Linked DNA regions of Homo sapiens: region 1 is linked to region 2. Evidence: promoter capture Hi-C in human tissues and cell types (Jung and others, 2019). All regions are on one chromosome and are shown on one strand. The core of a region is centred on a gene start or on the middle of the fragment in contact, and the rest is flanking DNA. Distances in the headings are between cores, read along the strand shown.

Region 1 (3,787 bases), core at 541-3,040, 850 kb before region 2:
TCAGCTCTTGAATTTCCCTTTGTTTGCTTTTTCTTTTGCTTTTATCTCTTCTCTCTTTTAATCAAGTGCCTCTTCCCTTCAGAAATAGCTTACAGGCTATTTTATATTCTACAGTGTAGGTCCAGATTTTTAAATAGAGGGAAATGACTTTCATACATTCTTTTTTCAGCTCATTGTGGTGGTCTAGAAAAAAAATAGGTAAAGCTGTGACTTATCACACATATAAATCCTGGGCTTGCACCTTTCAGAGTTGGTTATTGGTCTTTGTGAAATGTATGGTGTGGAGGCTCCACATTAATGCACCTTTCCTTCTCGTCACTTCAGGCGGAAAAATCCATTCCTGACTGCAGTGGTGAAGTGGATGCATGGAATCCCCAGCAAGGTCCTGGCAGGCAAGTCCTTGTTGGCCCCAATAAATCAATGATGGTGGCGGGAGACTCACTCCCTCCACGGGCTCCGCATAAGCCAGAGCACGCAGTGGCAGACAAAGGAGGGTGAAACCAGCATGTGTGTGCCTCTCATAAATGCTTTCCCTATGTTCATAAATTGTCATTTAATTTTAATAACAACCAATTAGAAGATGATTGTGAAACCATTAAACAGATGAATAAACTGAGGCTACCAGAGATTATGTCTTTCCCCAGGCTATACTGCTGGTGGGTAATCAAGCCAGGATTACTACCCAGATTTGTCCGACTGCAATACTCATATTCTTTTTACCAGGCACCGTGCAAAGTGGTGTGCATGTATTTTCTCATTTAATCATGATAAAAATCCTCAAAGATGGATATTAGCATCTCAGATTTACAAATAAAGAAACTGAAGCTTTGCAGAATTCATTAACTTGCCTGAGTTCTTGCTGTTATGAAGTGGCAGAGGGCACTCCAACCCAATCTCACTCCAGAGTCCACATTTGTAATTACCCCACCAAACAGCCACAGCACTTGATCCCCAAGAGGGTGGCATGAAATGCTCAATGCCTTATGTTCAGAGCAGGCAGATTTTGACTTCAGTAGGCAAGATCTCTCAGACTTCTGTTTGGCTTCCATCAATATGTACTTAAGCCCCAGGGAGCTGCCCCAGACAAACTATGTGCTGATCTCCCCAAGACAGGCGCATTTGCTCAGCACACCCATTTCCATCAGCATTTTTTTTTTTTGAGTTTACTGCTCAGTTGGGGCAGCTGCACCATCAGCAACCCATCTGGCAAAAGCTGCAGCCCACTTGTCTGTAAAGGATGCACCAGGAGGGCTTGACAAAAGGGAGCAGCTTTGCTACCAGCAGCAGGATCCCATTTGGAAACAGAAGCAGGGGGCCTGGAGTCCTGCAGTCACTACTCTGCAGGCCCAGCCAACCCTGGCAGCAGGAGCCAGTTGCTATGGGACAACTCTGTTAACTTTTGTGCATAAGAACTGCTTACCAGAGTCTCAGCTGTCCCCATCTCCCTTCAAACAAAACAGTGTCAGCAGAACCCCTGTCCTACAGAAAACAAACAAACAAACAAACAAAAACCCTATGGAGTCAGAACTCACTAGGAAAACAGTAAACCAAACTAAACCAAAAGCAAAACAAACTCAAACTTCATCATAGAAAAATGGCTTACACCCTGGGTTCTACAACTGGGGTCTGTAGCATGTACTCCTAGTGCTTCAGAATTTCTATTTTAGGAATGAATCCTTTCTTCTTGGTATTCTGGCATCCTCCTTAAAACTGTTGAACTCTCCCTTGGGTTTATTTAGTTATTTTTCAAAAAAGCAAGTGGGGAAGCATTAAGTCTGTCACTGGAGGAAGCGTAATGCTGGGAACGAGGGAACTGGTTTCACGGTGGGTGGCTTTGACATGGCAGCTCTTCCAGAGCTCTAGCCCAGAGGCTGGATGGCCAGCAACAGGTGCACCTTTGATAGCAAAGGAGCTGCCTTGAAGAGGGGCTCAGAAACCTCAGTGCACTTCAGGAAGAAGCCCGGGGAACTGTGAAGCACACCTCACCTTGAAGTCTTCCCAAGGTGGTAAAAAGGTATTACTTTTAAGATGGGCTCCCAGCAGTCCTTCTTCACATGGATCAGGACTCCACCTACAGTTCTGGCCAGATGGAAGCCATCCCTGATGTGAGAAGGCAGCAATTGCTCATCACAGCAGAGAGGAGCGAGCAACGGTGAGATTGAAAGGGAACAAGTGCAGAGTGAGGAAGTAACGTCTACAGGGCATTTGAGGACTGAGGCACAGGCTCTGGGCTCAGAAGTTTTAGGGAATGGCAGCTGCCAAATGCTAGCATTAACTGAGGAAAAGAATGCATTCCTGGGAGGCCGAGGCAGGCGGATCACCTGAGGTCAGGGGTTCGAGACCAGCCTGACCAACATGGCGAAACCCTGTCTCTACTAAAAATACAAAACTTAGCTGGGCATGGTGGTGGGCACCTGTAATCCCAACTACTCGGGAGGCTGAGGCAAGATAATTGCTTGAACCCGAGAGGTGGAGGTTGCAGCGAGCCATGATCGTGCCATTGCACTCCAGCCTCGGCAACAGAGCAAGACTCCATCTCAAAAAAAAAAAAAAAAAAAAAAGAATGCATTCCAAAGCATGCTATGCTTTGGTCCTAGGGTAAAACCTGCATTTATGGAAAGTATCTTATCCCCTGATGCACTAGTTATTGCTCCAAGACCCAAAGAAACTTGACTGATAACCAAACAGGGGGGGAAAAAGGAATAAAAACTTGGAATGTTACCATTTGGGAACAGAAGAGTAACATCTTGACAGTCTGTTCTCCACAGGGAAATACTGAGATATATCACAGAAGGTCATGTTTATTCCAGGATTAACAATCATAAAAGTTAGAGATACCCCTGAAATACATAAGGCTTATAACCTCGAAACTGAGAAAACTGTTCTTTGTTTACTAATGTCTAATAATTCCACTTCTCCCAGGGGATCAGATGTATGAAGTTACGTTTGCTTCAGTCAATTGAGAATGGCGGAAGTGATTCTATGCCATTAAGTCATAAAAAGTCAAGCAGTTTCCACCAGATTCAATTAGGGGCCTCCCTCTCAGAACCCATAAACTCCCCTAAGAGATGCTCCAGCCACATGGAGATGCCATGTGCAGATATTTTAAGTCTTCAAGTAATGCTAGCCTACGTAACAGATATGTGAAGAAAGAAGGCCTGAGTTTATTCCAGATCCCAGCTATTTAAGTCATCCTAGCTAAGGCCTCATTGAGCAAGGACCATGAGTGATTTGCCATGAAAATTTAGGATAGGAATCTGGATGGGCATGGTGGCTCATTCCCATAATTCCAGTGCTTTGGGGGGCCAAGGCAGTAGGATCCCTTGAGGCCAGGAGTTTGTGGCCAGCCTGGGCAACATACTGACACCTCCTCTCCACAAAGAAATAAAAAATTAGCTGGGCACGGTGGTGCATGCCTGTAGTCCTAGCTACTTGGGAGACAGAGGAAGGAGGATTCCTTTAGTCCAGGAGGTTGAGGCTGCAATGAGCTATGATTGTGCCACCACACTCTAGCCTGAGGGACAGAATGAGACCCTGACTAAAAAAAAAAAAAAGAAACAAAACAAAACAAAAAACCTCCCAAAACAAAAATAGCACAAGTATGAAATGGTGTACCGTAACCATCGATGTATTTGTTATCTAGGATTTGCTGTTTGTTTAATGTACAAAAATTAAAGGGATCTATTATTCATCTTGGTAAGTATGATACAGTTATTTTTATGTTTTCTATTTTTTGCATTATGAATATAATTCCAAGATAAATATGATGAAATGTGAAATAGTGTTC
Region 2 (3,735 bases), core at 486-2,985:
TTCCCCCTCAAGAATTGCTCTTTAAACATAAGGGGGTTTTGAGAGGAACCTCGGGCCGGTCCCTCAGGCTGTTAGGAAAGTCTGCATTTTGCAGAGCTGCTCTCCCCGGGAGGAGATGAACAATGAGCTAATTACATTTTTATCTTTCTAATGAGCTGAGGATTTGTGTAAATGAGAAAAGCAGGGGGTACGCTAGAGGGAGGGAGAAAAGACTTTCCACCCCCAGCCCTCCGAGGGCAGAGCTGGTACCTGGAAGGGGTGGAGAAACAGAAGTCCCCACGGTTCCTAAACTTTCTCAGCCAGTTTTGCAGCAATCCCAAGGCTACTTGACTGAATGACCAGTGAAGGAAAGGGCTTGGTTTTATTTTTTAAATCTTTGTCGAACCTATGAAAATAAACAAAAGCTGCTCCAAGCATTCTCTCGGCCTTTCTGAACTTTCTACGCTTTGGGTTTTTGTTTTTTCCTCCCGTCTCAGAGGTTAAAAACTTCGATAGGGACTCGGAGTCCTCCTAGAGGAGAGGGAAGCTCCCCTGTTATTTAAAGCGCAAGGCTTTGTTTCAGGTATGGGAAAGGCGAAGTTGGATCCCAGGAAGAGCGGCTCCGGGGACCACAGCGAGTCCCTGCGAGGCCAAGGCGCAGAGCTGCCGCTCCCGGGCCAGCCCCGCCGTGCACCTGGGTCGCGAGGGGCGCTGAGCGATACCTGGGACAGACCAGACGCGCTTAGGAATCACGTGCACAGCATGCGAGCAACCTCGGGCCCTCAGTCCCCAGCACCGGGACCCAGCGGCGGGCGGGCGTAGGGTGGCGCGGGTTCTCCTGCAGCTCCGGCCGGGGGATGGAGGGGGCGGCTCGCGCACGTGGGAGGAGGCAGCCTTACCTTGGGGCTTGGAGGCTTCGGTGGCATTGGGCGGCGTCATGGCGATGCAGACGTCCCCCTCGGGGAACTTGTCACACTTAAGCATCTCGGGCCAGTAGAAGCCGAAGAACTGCATGACCGGCTCGCACGAGTCGCGCACGGCCTCGCAGAGCCAGCGACACGGGTAGATGGGCCGGTCCAGGCAGACGGGCGCGAAGAGCGAGCAGAGGAAGACCTGGGTGCCGGCGTGGCAGTTCTTGTTGAGCAGGGGCACCCAGCTGCTGGCCTGCTGCTTCACCTCCGCCATGGTCTCGTGCTCCAGCAGGTTGGGCAGCACCATCTTCTTGTAGCCCACGTTGTGGCACAGCCGCAGGTCCGCGGGGATGTCCACGCACTGAGGTGGCTTGGTGTAGAAGCGCCCGCTCTGGTACGGGCCGATGTCCGACTGGAAGCTCACGTAGTCGTACTCGCTGGCCGAGCCCACGGCCAGAAGCGCCGCGCCCAGCGCCAGCAGCACGCCCAGGGCTGCCCCGCGGCGGCCCCCCTCGCTGCGCCCGATGCCCATGCCGGCTCTGCGCCCTGTTCTCCGCGACGTCGGGGCTGCCTCCGCCGCCTCCCCGCGCGCGTCCTGCCGCAAACTTCCAGGGACCTCCGGGGACAAAAGGCGCAGTCCCCAGCGTTGCCCGGCTCCGCGGCCGCAAGCTGCTGCCCGGTCCCCCCGGCCAGTGGCGGCCCTCGGCCTGCGGTCGGAGGCGGCGCGGGCGGGGAGGCGGCGCTGCGGGCTGGGTGCGCCCCGGCTCCCGGAGGTGCGGCGAGCAGGAAGGCGCGGGGCGGCGGGCGCGCGGCACTGACTCCGGAGGCTGCAGGGCTGGAGTGCGCGGGGCTCCTACGGCCGAGCCCTCGGAGCCGCCCCGCGCAGCCAATCAGCTCCCGGCGGGGCGAGCCGCACTCGTTACCACGTCCGTCACCGGCGCGGGAGCCAATCGCCTCCCTCGCGAGCGGGTTCGGTTTACTAGAACCAGACGCGGCTCAACACCCCTTAAAAAACAAAACCAAAAATACATAAATAAAAGGGGGAGGAGGAAAGAGACAAGGGGAGAAAAAGAAGGGGAATGGATCACGGCGTGGGGTGGAGAGAGACCAGGGCGGACGCTGTAATTAACTCGCATTGGCTTGCAGAGAAGCGGGGAGCCTGGATCATACTTGCAAACCCATGAAATTATGAAGACTTTTTTTTTTTGAGACAGTTTCGCTCTTGTTGCCTAAGCTGGAGTGCAATGGCGCTATCTCCGCTGACTGCAACCTCCGCCTCCCGGGTTCAAGCGATTCTCCTGCCTCAGCCTCCCGAGTAGCTGGGATTACAGCCGCGTGCCACCATGCCCCCGCTAATTTTTTGTATTTTTAGTAGAGACGGGGTTTCACCATGTTAGCCAGGCTGGTCTCGAACTCCTGACCTCAGGTGATGCTCCTGCCTTGGCCTCCCAAACTTTTTTTTTCTTTTTCTTTACACTGCTTCCTAATTTCAACCAACAGCCCTTTAGACTAGCGGCTCCTCTCCTCGGTTCTCTAGCTGCGGTGCAGACAGGTGGTTTCCCAACTAACAGGGGTTCAGGAAGGCTGAAGCGAGGGAGGTCTGCTTGTAAATACCCAGTGGGCCTGGCTGGGCTCCCTGGAAGGCGAGGCGAAGGCGCAGTTGGAGCTGTTTGCTGTGAGCAGCACCTCTCCAGGTGGGGCCGCCCATGGTGGCCCTCAACACTGGGGCAGTGGGTGGACTTTGCCCGGTGTGGCGGCAGGAAGAGCTGCTAGCAACGGTATTAGCTCTGGGAGGACACTTTTTTAAATATATAATATATATTTAAATAGAAAAACCCTACTCAAGTCCTAGCCCGGGCGACAGCACATCTGTGTGTTTGTGGTGTGGAAAGCCAAAACATTAAAAACACATGTGCACTTATCAGCGTGGCTGGTGTAAATACCAAGTCCATCACTCAGGCACACATGCTAAGGTTAGACCCAGTCCAGGAACTTCAAGTTAAAATCAAGGGTCCCCACTAGGGCAGACGCCAAGAGGACGGTATCAGCACAACAGCTCGGCCCCCAGGAACAGAAGTCTCTCTGCCACCTTCTACCTCGAATTCCTGAGAATTCTTCGTAGGTTTCAAACATTCCCCTGAGAGGGAGGGTTAAGCTCTGGAGAGCTGGGAGTGAGACCCGGACTATCCCGGGACAGAAGACCACAGCAAATAGTTCATGAAGTTCCTGGAGTCTCCATATCTTCTGTCCCTAAGTGCGGGTGGAGAGAGGCTGATATATTCATAGCCCAGTCTGAGCGCACACCCCATGTGGCAAAGGGGTCACAGATCTTAGCGCTCCACAGAGACACTATAGGGCGCGCTGCCTTGCCCGCCAGCTTGTTTGTAAAGCTCTAGGGAGCTTGCTTTGGACTCTGCAAACCTAATTTCTTGATGGACAGATTCCAAGTGAAATGACTAGAGTTTGTGAAGAAGCAGGGCTGTTTTCTTAAAGCATTCGTGCCCGTACAGACACGGTGATTCCACGGTGCACACAGGAGGCTTCTGCAGATGGATGACTTCTCTGTCATTTCGTGGCCAATGGAAGATGCCTTGACACTCAAAAGGTGACATGGAGGCTGGAAGGAAAACACAGAGAAGAGAGAGCAAGATCGGGATGGCCAAGGGTTAATCCCAAGACAATTGGTGAGGCCGGCCTGTGGAGCTGAGGAAGACATTCCTCACAGAGAATAAGACCGCAGGAGACCCGGCAACTGTGTCTCAATTCAAGGGGCATTTAGAGAAAAATGCTGTTTGGTAGGGGGTCTTTTTGTCTCCTAGGGCCAGGCCCTCCACCTCAAGCCAAA

What was found. Contacts are between HindIII fragments. The study calls those that stand out against the background at their distance.
Region 1: a contact is called between a fragment that was not itself captured here and the fragment with the promoter of SFRP1 in region 2, in 1 of the 25 tissues and cell types used here (IMR-90 fibroblasts).

What each region holds. Positions count from the first base shown.
Region 1 is chr8:40,456,229-40,460,015 of GRCh38, forward strand. No RefSeq gene overlaps it. Among named protein-coding and RNA genes, the nearest start is that of SIRLNT, 110 kb to the left of the region's middle. The HindIII fragment of the contact is 6,301 bases long and covers 1-3,787 here.
Region 2 is chr8:41,307,738-41,311,472 of GRCh38, forward strand. SFRP1 (secreted frizzled related protein 1) reads right to left here and starts at 1,736. Exons shown (of 3, transcript NM_003012.5): 1 at 879-1,736. The coding sequence starts at 1,422. RefSeq lists enhancers at 1-685, 686-1,456, 3,376-3,735. The HindIII fragment of the contact is 13,871 bases long and covers 1-3,735 here.